Regions from separate parts of the Homo sapiens genome. Here all the other regions are linked to region 2. Evidence: promoter capture Hi-C in 16 types of primary human blood cells and fetal thymus (Javierre and others, 2016). All regions are on one chromosome and are shown on one strand. Each heading gives the region's core, a stretch centred on a gene start or on the middle of the fragment in contact. The rest is flanking DNA. Distances are from core to core; before and after follow the strand shown.

The links. Contacts are between HindIII fragments. The CHiCAGO score rates a contact against its expected background, and 5 or more counts as called.
Region 1: a fragment that was not itself captured here is called in contact with the fragment with the promoter of SPATA4 in region 2 in 1 of 17 cell types (total CD8 T cells); the score reaches 6.3 in total CD8 T cells.
Region 3: a contact is called between a fragment that was not itself captured here and the fragment with the promoter of SPATA4 in region 2, in 1 of 17 cell types (fetal thymus). The highest score is 6.1, in fetal thymus.

Annotation. Positions count from the first base shown.
Region 1 is chr4:177,321,393-177,325,945 of GRCh38, forward strand. NEIL3 (nei like DNA glycosylase 3) reads left to right here. Exons shown (of 10, transcript NM_018248.3): 2 at 1,067-1,188. Among named protein-coding and RNA genes, the nearest start is that of NEIL3, 14 kb to the left of the region's middle. The HindIII fragment of the contact is 274 bases long and covers 1,180-1,453 here.
Region 2 is chr4:176,193,883-176,198,134 of GRCh38, forward strand. SPATA4 (spermatogenesis associated 4) reads right to left here and starts at 1,703. Exons shown (of 6, transcript NM_144644.4): 1 at 1,463-1,703. The coding sequence starts at 1,680. The HindIII fragment of the contact is 1,203 bases long and covers 1,193-2,395 here.
Region 3 is chr4:174,521,411-174,523,989 of GRCh38, forward strand. HPGD (15-hydroxyprostaglandin dehydrogenase) reads right to left here and starts at 1,078. Exons shown (of 7, transcript NM_000860.6): 1 at 949-1,078; 2 at 534-657. The coding sequence starts at 1,041. It overlaps LOC105377548 (a long non-coding RNA gene), which reads left to right and starts at 1,203. Exons shown (of 7, transcript XR_007058492.1): 1 at 1,203-1,719; 2 at 1,975-2,011. The HindIII fragment of the contact is 179 bases long and covers 1,241-1,419 here.

The sequences.
Region 1 (4,553 bases), core at 67-2,566, 1.1 Mb after region 2:
AAGTTTTACATTTTTATTACATTTTGAGTTTAAATTAAATAATGTTTATAAAACATATATAAATAATAAAAAATAATGACATAAGAAACACCAGTATACATAATGCTCAGTTTAAGAAAAAGGGCATTACTAAAATCTAAACCAAACGCCCTTTCTTTTCTTCTCCCACAGAAGAACCTACATTTTATATTTTTGTTTTCTGTTTAATTCATGTTTATAATTTCCTCGAATATCTTATAGGATTCTGCCTATATGTTGTCATTCTAACAATATATTGTTTGGTTTTGCAAGGCTGATGGGGGAAAGGGAATATGAGTTTATTTTTTCTTTATTCTTAACATTGTGCTTGGAATAGGACAGGTCTCAAATTAGATTCCCCTACTCAGGGGGCCGCAGGTTTTTATCTCTGATCTCCTGCACCCTCACAAGATGTGAAAATTGAAGCTCTCATTCCTTAGTTTCATGTGAAAATTGAAGCTCTCATTCCTTAGTTTCAATCAATGCCCTTAGGATAGATGCTGGCTTCACAGCTCTCCCTACTACCTCTCAGGGTTCTCTCCCGCTTTTAGTTTTTGACCTTTTATTATTTCATACTAGCTTAAAAGTTCATCGGTGAAGTTAAAAATATTTTGTTTTCATATTTTATCATCTGTCATTTGTAGCTGTTTTTATCTGACCACTCTTTCAGGGAACTTGGCTATATACTTCTGGAAATGGAAGAACCTATATTCCAGTTTTTAGTTTTAGAACATTCGTGTTGTATTCCTATGCTTTCTTTTCATATGCACAGAGCTATATGGTCCTGGAAGAAACTTTATTTTGCTTGTCTACCAATTACTTTTTTTCACTTAATTTTTTTGGCCTCTCTCTCTTTAAATGACTGCATAGTGATTTGACAAAATGTATGTAAACAGCCGATTACATTACATGACTTGTTGGAGATTATTCTTCTCATTGGAATGCACCTGGGCGTGAAGTAATATAAACACATTTAAGAATTAAATAATGCTTTTGCTTAGAGTTTGTGTGTGTGTGTGCTTATGTGTGTACATGTATTTTCCACTAGGCTGCTGCACTGAATAATGATTCCAGCCAGAATGTCTTGAGCCTGTTTAATGGATATGTTTACAGTGGCGTGGAAACTTTGGGGAAGGAGCTCTTTATGTACTTTGGACCAAAAGCTTTACGGTAAGATAAGCCTGTACGATACATCTTATCTCTCTATATTTAAAGATGCGTAGAAGGCTAGATGGAGTTTGCCGGGTGTCACATTTAATCATATAGGAAGTACTGTGTTTTTAAGAGAGCTCCAATATGAGAGGTTGTGATTCTATCATGGAAATCAATAAACAGCAGAAGAATAAATTCTGATGTCATCATCACTTGGAAGACAGTCATTTTACAGGGCTTCCCAAGATGTATTAGAGCAACACATCTGTTTTGCTAGTCCCCAAGCTTCCTATACCACAAGTCTCTCCTTGTTTTTACCGAATGCTTATTGTATTCAGTGACATCGGTTACTTTATATTTGTGACAGGCCCTAGTTTGGTTTAAATGTATCACTTGATCTTTAAATATTTTTCTGGCTTCCTGCTTTCTCTGAAGCCTTGAATGGAATTTGGAAATTTACTTAGAGAGTGTAAAAACTTTCCAGAGAAATAACAGGTTCTCCATTGTTTCACAGTTCCCATGGAAATTCATGGCTAATATACTGGCAGAGAAGGACTAGCAACCTATTTCCTTTGTTGACTTAATGATAAAAAAGTCAAAATATATGTAATTGTGATGCATGATCACATGTTTAATTTTTGCAGGAAAATGAAAGCGGCCTTTGAGTTAATATGTCTACCCAATCTCATTCTGTCTTTTCTGAGTTTAGCCTAAGCTTTTGCCAACTGTAAAAATTGATACTGCTTCCTCAAATCGTTTTTAGTGCTGTTTAAAGATACTGACCACAGTTATCACCTTTTTCTTAAAAGAAAAGACCTGTTCCTGGACCCCATGCTAACCAAAGGTGAATAATTGTCACAAAGAGATGATACTATATGATTGTTCTTTATTGCATCTCATCTACCACATATTTAGAGTAATCCAGGGTTTATGTAATTGCTTTTCCTTTGAGGTGTTCTCTTTTCATTGTCAGCAGCTGCTGTCCTTGGACAACATTGTCACTTCATGGTTTTGCTTAGTCTGGAATTGATAACATCAGCATATGCCTAGTTGTTCATGCAGTAATGATATATTGCAGGTTACACTGCTGCTGTAGTAGACTGATGTGATGGAAAACTCATAGCTCTGGATAGAGTAGTACACAATGGGATCTATGCACGATAGTTGAAAACATTGATATGTTATTGATTCTCTGGTGTTAGGTACAGATTTATTTCTGTAAGATGAGAGGGGGTTTTTATCAAGTGCTCTCCACCAGACTGATAAGGGGGAAGTCATTTCTCAGCACACGGCTGTCAGTAAGTGTTCCATGAAGTTCTAAACAAGGACAATCACTTCTTCAAACTCATTGAACTAGTGCCCTCCCTGGAGAGTACCTATGTCAGTATATGGGTGGGAAAAATGCAGTGGCTTGCTTCCTTTCAGTTTCCTGCAGCCATAACAACTATTGGATGTAACAATTCAAGGTCAATGGCAGATCTGCTGTTGGAATCTGAACCTAAAATCATTTGCCCCTCTTTTCACAATGTAACAGAAGTTCAAAAAATGTACTTCCAACCTGTGCTTCTTAGAGGAATGGATAACTCTCTCAAAGAAATGTGATCTTTTTGTGAGGCTGCAGGTCTGTGCACCTGCAATAGAAATGTAGTCTTCATTTTTGACTTCTGCCTCCCACCCACCTGGCTCATCTGCATTTGATAGAGCATATAGCAGGAAACACTTTCAAAGGTTGCTCACAGTTTTCCCTTGATACCCAACTTTTCACAAGCAAAATTGCCCGCAGAGTTTAGTCATAAAGTGTGTGCATCTCATAGGTTGGGCCATGAATCTCCTGGGATTCATTGGTTGAATCTCCTGGGATTCATTTGTTAATGAAAGTAGAATACGAGCATAGCCTCTAAAAGAATCTGCCCTGTAAAAATCCACACATCAGAAAGATACAAATTAGAGAGTGATTACTTCTCTACCTACTAAGTGATATATTCAAGTGCTCCTGATAGTGCCAAGGAATACTAAAAATTATTTGATACACATTTATTTTAGGAGCACTATTGTGTTATGTGTGATTAATACCTGTACAACTTCTGAACACTTTCCACTAACTCTTCAACTAAAACAACACAAACGTCACTTGAAGTTTTTGCTACAAATGTAACAAGTACTCAGTAGAGAAAACTGAAAAATAATGAAAATAAGTGTAAAGTAATACATTCTCAATCCCACTACCAGGTGTAATCTTTATTAACTTTGGATGCATACAATGCCACATTGCCAGTATAGTGTGTGCGAATGTTTATATGCATGTTCACCCAGCTGCACTCACACTGAAGCTATCATTTTAATCAAAATGGACATAGCTGTTGCATTTTGGACTAAAATTTAAAAAACAGATAGATAGATAGATAGATAGATAGATAGATAGATAAGTAAATATATTTTTCCAAGACCATTTTCTGTTTCCAGTTTGTGATTTACATGACTCTGGCTTTTGAAGTTATATGTGCTCAGAGACCAGAAACTATATCTGAGATATTTTGGAGGCTTTGCCATTTTAGAAATGCCTTATACATGATTGATTTTATAATTTATTGGGGTTTAAGTATGAACCTCAAACCAGTTATGCAAGAGATAATATAATGATTCTTTTTAGTTTGCTGAAATGTCTTTATTGAATCCATCATATATTACTTATAAAAGAGTTTTACAGCTTCAACATAGTTTCTGTACTATCATATAACATGTTAGGAGAAATAGAAGTGTACTTTTACTCTGTATAATACTTTAAGATTCATTCATACTGTTTGAAGTATCAGTGGTACTTTCTTTTCTTTTACTAAGTAGTCTCCCATTGTATGAACATACCATATTTTGTTAATTCATTCATCAGATGATGGACATTTGGATTGTTTCAAGTTTTTAATATTGTGAATAAAATTGCTATGAATATTCACATACATATGACATATATATGTGGACATACATTTTCATTTCTCTTGGATAAATTACCAAATGACTTAGAAATTCTAAGTCATTTGGTAAGCATATGTTTGACTTTAAGAGGAATTGCCAAACTGTTCTTAAAAGTGGTGGTACCATTTTACATTCTCACCAGCAGAGTATGAGAATTTCAGTTACTCAGCATCTTTGCCAGCACCTGGTATTGTCAGTTGTGTTAATTTCAGCTATTCTAATAGGTGTACAGTGTATCTCACTATGATTTTAATTTTCTTCTCCCTACTAACTAATGATATCTGATGCAATATGCATATTTCCTGTTTGTGTATTTTATAGGGTGATGTGTCTATTAATGTTTTCCTTTTTTATTGGATATATTTTTGTATTATTGAGTTATAGTATTCTGTATATATTCTAGATGTCAGTCA
Region 2 (4,252 bases), core at 453-2,952:
TGAAGACAAATTAGTAAACTAGTCCCCCGCTTATCTGCAGTTTTGCTTTCTGCAGTTTCAGTTACCTTGGGTCAATCACAGTCGGAAAATATTAAATGGAAAATTCAAGAAATAATTTGTAACTTTTAAATTGTACTCTGTTCTGGGCAGTCTGATGAAACCTCCCTGCCTGCTCTGTGTTGCCTAGGATGTGAGTCCTCCCTTTGTCCAGAGTCTCCACGTTGTAGACATCAGTCACCTTTTAGTCATCAGATCAACTGTACAGTGTGGTGCGCTTGTGTGCAAAGTGCAAGAGCAGTGATGCTGGTGATTCAGATATGCCAGAGAGAAACCATAAAATTATTCCTTTAGGTGAAAAGATGAAAGTTCTTGACTTAATAGAAAGTTGTAAGAATGGTTACAATGGTAGGAATGAATCATATTCCTGAAATATGAAGAAAAAGAAATTCTTGATAGTTTCGGCATCACACCTCAAACTGAAAAACTTTCAGCCACAGTGTGTGATAAGTGCTTAGTTAAGATTTTTAAAAAGGCATTAAATTTGTGGATGGAAGACATAAACAGAAATGTGTTCTGACAGAGGGTTCTGTAGTATCCACAGTTGCCATCCACTGGGGATCTTGGAACCTATGCCTCTCTGATAAGGAGAGACTACTTTAAACCAGAGTTCTGCAAAAGATTCATTGCCTTTTTATAGAATTTAGTTTGCATTCCCAGAGCAAATATTAGCTGCCAGTTACATACAAAGTGCCTACAATTAAGCAGCAACTTTAAAAACTTGTTGGTAACTCTCAAACTAGATGCCATCTCCGACAAAGGGTAAACTGATCCTTACCAGTATTTTTTTTTTTTTTTTTTTTTTTTTTTTTTGAGACAGAGTCTTACCCTGCCACCTAGGCTGGAGTGCAGCGGCATAATCTCGACTCACAGCAACCTCCGCCTCCCGGGTTCAAGCATTCTCCTGCCTGCAGCCTCCCCAGTAGCTGGGATTACAGGCACCCGCCACCACACTGGGCTAATTTTTTGTATTTTTTAGTAGAGACGGGGTTTCACCGTGTTGGTCAGGCTGTTACTCAACTCCTGACCTCAGGTGATCCGCCTGCCTCGGCTCCCAAAATGCTGGGATTACAGGCATGAGCAACTGTGCCCGGCCGTCCTTACCAGTATTAATGCCCAATATCACTAAAGAAAAAGCTTTGACTATTTTAATATTTTTGTAGTCACCAAAGCATTCTATATTGTCCACAATTTAATGATTGGTTGATTAATTGAATAAACAAGATGTATCGTGGTATTTTGTTAAAGCCTTGTTCCCTAATAGTGTTTTCGTGTGTGTACGTGGGTGGGGGGGTCTTGATTTGAAACATAAGCCAGGCCAGGGTAGGCAATCTGAGGCCTGGCAGGCGGCGGAAAGCAGGCGGGGCGCCCACCGGGGGGGCCTAGGACTGGCTTACTCAAGCACCTGTTGATGTTCCTGGGGAAGAAGCTGAGATCCAGACCCTGAAGCCAACGCAGAACGGAACGAGACAAGCGGGAGCTCTTCGGCGCATGCGGATAGACCAGACACTTCTTAGGCCTCCCTCGGATGGGAGCTGCTAGCTGTGGCGAAAGTGACGGTGACTTGTCTAGGGCTGCCGCAGTCTGTGTCAAATACCCTTTTTCCTGGCCGGCGGCAGCCATGACGCTTTCTGGGTTGCTGCGGCAACAGCAGAAGGCGGGGCTGGGCCTTATTGCTGGCGGCGCGGTCTCGTGGGGCGGGGCGGAGTCTTATGGGGCGAGACCTCAGCGCCTGCGCAAGCGCCGCAGCAGCCGCCCGTACTTCCGCTTTACTCAGATTTTGGACCGCGGGGCCGGGTATCGAGGGAGGCAAAGCTGGGGTCCCAGTGGTGTGGCTGCGGTCTGGGGAGCGCTTTCAGTCTCAGATTTAGTTGGCCTCACTGTTAACCTATTTAGAGCTTTTTTTTTCTTATGTCATCGTTCATAAGTTTTGTATTTTAAATATTGTTGGTTTCTGCCCAGCCAAAGGCCTATTTTCAGTCGTCTAGTTTGAGGAGTGGTGTGAGAAGACTCCAGAGGCCAAGGACAGTTTTTGTTTGGGAATTGGAAGAGATGGGGGAAAAAAATCTTTGAAATGGAAATGAATGTCCACAAAATTTAACATAACTATTTCCTTAATTATTGCATTAAGTATTTGTAAACATTAATATTTGAAAACGATGTGTAGGTTAGATTTTCACACTTAATTAAAATCTCCTAGTAGGCATAATTCCTTCATTAATTCAACAAATATGTATTGAGTCCATATTATGTGCCACGCATTCATCTAGTCACTTGGGATCTATCTGAACACAATGAAAACAACTGCAAAGTTGGCATAGGCAATTATAAATATGTAAGCTTAATTATTAAAATCCATTAAAAATTTTTACAGCCACAGTTTTTTGTTTTTTGTTTTTTGTTTTTTGTTTTTTTTTGCTTGGCAGGGCACAGTGGGTCATGCCTGTAATCCCAGCACTTTGGGTGGTGGAGGCGGGAGGATCGTTTGAGCTCAGGAGTTCAAGACCAGCCTGGGCAACACAAGGTGGAGAGACTTTCGCTACAAAACAAACAAACAAACAAAATAGCTGGGTGTGGTGGTGCACACCTGTACTCTCAAGTACTCCAGATGCTGAGGTGGGAGGATTGCTTGAGCTCAGGAACTTGAGGCTGCAGAGAGCCAGGTGACAGGCCCTGTGGATACATACACATGGTAAAATATGGGATAGATCTTGATAATGATACTATGTAATATTTTTAATGTTTATTCATATACATGCTTATTAATAAAGTAAACCAGTGTATTCTGTATGTGGTTAAAAAAGAAAACCAAAACTGAAGCTATGTAAGTGTTTTCTGTTAGGCTAAAAAAGTTTTAATGAATGATTCATTCATTCTGTAAACCTTTTCTGAGGAACTATCCTGGAGTATGTGCTAGATCTTTACCATCCAATATGGTAGCCACTAGCCACATGTGGCTATTTAAACTTAAATTTAAATAAACTCAGTTCCACTGGCTACATTTTACCTGCTCAATAGCCATATGTAGCTAGTGGCTGCCATGTTGGGTAGGACAGACACAGCACTGTTCCATCACTACAGGAATTTCGATTGGACAGCTCTGTGCGGCAGATCATTTATAAGAGATTCAGAGATAGAAATATCAGTGAAAAGATTACATACACTGAAAAGCTCTGCCATGGTAAAAATATGTTAGCACCAGAAAGGAAGCAAATACTTTGGCCTGGGAGAGTGTAAGAAGTCCTCTCAAAAGAGATGACCATTAATTTGGATCTTAGAAGGTGGTATTTTAAGCTGATTTTTAAGATGAAAGCTTTGAATAGCCATTTCTACTGTGAAAGGAAATTAAATCTTGGGACCCCCCCCACCTCCCCCAAATCACTAAGCTAAAGGGAAAAGTCAAAGTGGGAACTGCTTAGGGCAAACCTGCCTCCTATTCTATTCAAAGTCACCGCTTAGCTCACTGAGCTAAATGCATACCTGATTGCCTACTCTGGAAAGGCTCATCAGAAACTCAACAGAATGCAACCATTTGTCTCCCATCTACCTATGACCTGGAAGCCCCCTCCCTGCTTGAGTTGTCCTGCCTTTGCTTCTAGTTGTCCCACCTTTTCCAGACCAAATCAATGTTCATCTTCCACATGTCGACTGAAGTCTCATGTCTCCCTAAAATGTATAAAACCAAACTGCCCTGACCACCTTGGGCACATGTCAGGACCTCCTAAGGCTGTGTCACGGGTGCTCATCCTCAACCTTGGCAAAATAAACTTTCTAAATTAACTGAGACCTGTCTCAGAGTTTCTGGGTTCACACTACCTTTTATTAGCTATATGACTTTGGGCAAGTTATTTAACATTTGTATTTGTAAAATATGGAAATAAATAGGATACACCACAGAGCTGTAGAGATTAAATAAGTGAAATCTATAAAGAGCCTAAAACAATGTGCAGCACGTAGTGCTCAGTAAGCATAGATGATTGCTTCAAAGGTGATCTTGGAAATTTATTTGGATGATGAAGGGGCAATCTCACACAGAGTGACTAATGGGAGCAATTGCATAGAAATATGAGGGGTTTTTTAAATGAGTTTTAGGAAAGAACAGAACCCATTAGGGTTAGAGAAAGTGTTTAGGCATTATCAACCAAAGAGACATTGTCAACCAAAGGTTTAGATGATAATGGCTAGAGAGGTAGGT
Region 3 (2,579 bases), core at 80-2,579, 1.7 Mb before region 2:
TATTATTATTTTAAAGTACTGTCTCATTGGGGAAAAAGCCGGAGAAAACATATGGTCAAAAGCATCTAGCACTTCTGTGATGATGCTCCTTGAACTTGTATTCTGATATGTTTAAACGAAAAACACTGCCACATTTGATTGTCATTGGACTCCAGCTTTCTGGGAGAAGTTGTTTGTCAACAGTACCTTACTTAACCTACTTTAATTTTCCAAGTTTTGTCTGCAATTTCAATCATTTAATAATTACTGCAGCAGCACTGTCTTTGAATACATAAAGGAATTTTGATTACATTAATGCTGCCAAATGACTACAATAAAAGGATTTCTCCAGCAGTCTTGCCTTTCTTTCGGTTTTACAGCTATTGGGCTGTCAGAAGGAAACGTATCAGTCCAAACTGTCTTTTGGAGCTTCAAGGTAGCTGCTCTCGAGGAGGCAGCGGAGGCGGCACCCAGGGCCCCCTGGCCGGGCTGCCTTCAGGTTGTTGCTTGTTGAGAGCACGTTCCCAGTTGACAGATTGATTCCCCTGTCTTACCTCTCAGTTGTTGCTGGTCAGCCACATCGCACTGGATGAACAGAGTCTTCTGAGGTTCAAACTGCTCATCCAGGGCAGCTTTACACTGTACACCTGCTTCAAGATTCCAATCCACCAGCGCTACCTATAGACAAGAGGAGAGGAATCGCGGGCCTGCGCAGCTCACGAAATAGACGGACAAACAATAAACACACAAGAGGCTCCCCTCCTGGACCTGAAATTTGGCAATTAGGTTTGGGTTCCCTCCCAGCCACTTCTGAGGTGTGCTCACAGCCTCAGCTTCAGCAAATTTTGGAAGTGGCAAAGTGGGCACGCCGGGCGCGGCCTCCCTGTCTCCGCCAGTGCACCTCGGGCGGCGGGGCGAGTCTCGGAGTGTGTGGGCAGAGAAATTTCCGCGGCTGGGCGCCGGGCTTACCTTGGCGCCCTTAAGCAGCAGCGCCTCTGCAAAGGCTCTGCCTATGCCCTGAGCCGCGCCGGTCACCAGCGCCACTTTGCCGTTCACGTGCATGGTGCAGCCACTGCTGGGGCGGGCGGTGGGCGAGCTCCGCGTCTCCGCGCGGCCGCGGCTTTTATGCCCCCCTGCGCGCGCGCGCGTGCAGCCCGGCGGGGCGCTCCCCTGCCAGTGGGCGGGGAGGAAACTGTCAAGCCAGCGCCCGCCGGGGAACCCACGACTGTGTCACCTGCCCCCTGAGCGTTCTGGAGCGCCAAGCTTCGCGATCTTTGCCTTCCGGACTCGCAGACCGGCTCAAAGCCTCCCCTCAGCCTCTGGCTCCGTGATTGGCAGGCAGCTGACAGAAGAAAAGTTAAAAGGTTATTTCTGAAGAAGAGTTTCCTTCAGTGCCCTAAAGACCAACTGGATAGAAGGAGAGCGGAGCAGAGGCTTGGAAGCTTGGATCCCTCCTCCTGCACTCCCTCCCGGCCCCGACTCCGGAACAAAACAAGCAAACAATAAAGCAAACTTGTTGCTCTTTTGTCTCAAAGTTTTGTGTGAGTTCCCATCTCGTAATCAGTGGGGTTGAGGGTGACGGGGAGCAGAAGTAACTAATATCATTGTGTTTTCTTAGTTACATTTTGGACAAATTTTTACGGATACTGGAGATGAGAAGTGGACTCTGCTCTGTCCTGAAAACCTGGAATCATAACATTTCATGGCTAGGACTAGAGTGTCCTTGGCGCTGTGTTTCTGGTCAGTGTCAATTGTGTGTCATATTGAGATGCCCCCACAAAAACTGTCATCATCAACAGGCGCTCCAGAGCCGCTGGTAGCCTACCAAATTGTTGGCTCAATGGAATGCTTACTTGTTGAAATACACCAACTTTGGAAGCTCTGAGTCAAGTTTGGGACAGAGGTTCCTTGCTCTCCAGGAACTCCAGGGCTAGCTGTATGCGGACTTGCATAAATAACAAGGGCTATTCCACTGACTTTGTCTCTTTTTCTCAGGTTGTCAGCGGCAGGCTGCAATTTTAATTCTGTAAACGTAAGTGGTTGGCTTTTTTTTTTTTTTTTTTTTTTTAATCTTGAGACAAGATCTCGCTCTGTCTGTTTGGCTAGAATGCAGTGGCATAATCCCAGCTCGCTGCAACCTCAATCTCCAGGGCTCAAGCGACCCTCCCACCTTGGACTCCCAAAGAGTGCTAAGATTACAGGCATGAGCCACTATGCCCAGCTGGCATTTATTTTCTTAAAGAAAAAAAAAATCTAAATACTTGGGGGAAATGGGAGTTGAGCAAAAGACTGACACTAACAGCAGAATGAATCATTTTTATATCTTCTTTACCTTCTTTACTGGGAAAGGTGGCTGGCTCAGCAGGGAAGGAGTGTATGAGGAGACTGTGTAAAATGTGTCTTGTCGCGTTGTTGGTAAGCCGCTAAGCAAATGTCTTTAACATTAATTTGAAATTAGGTCTTGACAAAATCTTGAGAAATTAAAACAGGAAAATAGATATTTGTACTCTAGGATGATAATTAAAATTGTAATATGAAGAGTAAATTGAGGGGTCATATTGAAAGGGAATAATAGTAGAAGACAAAAAGAAAACAAGGAA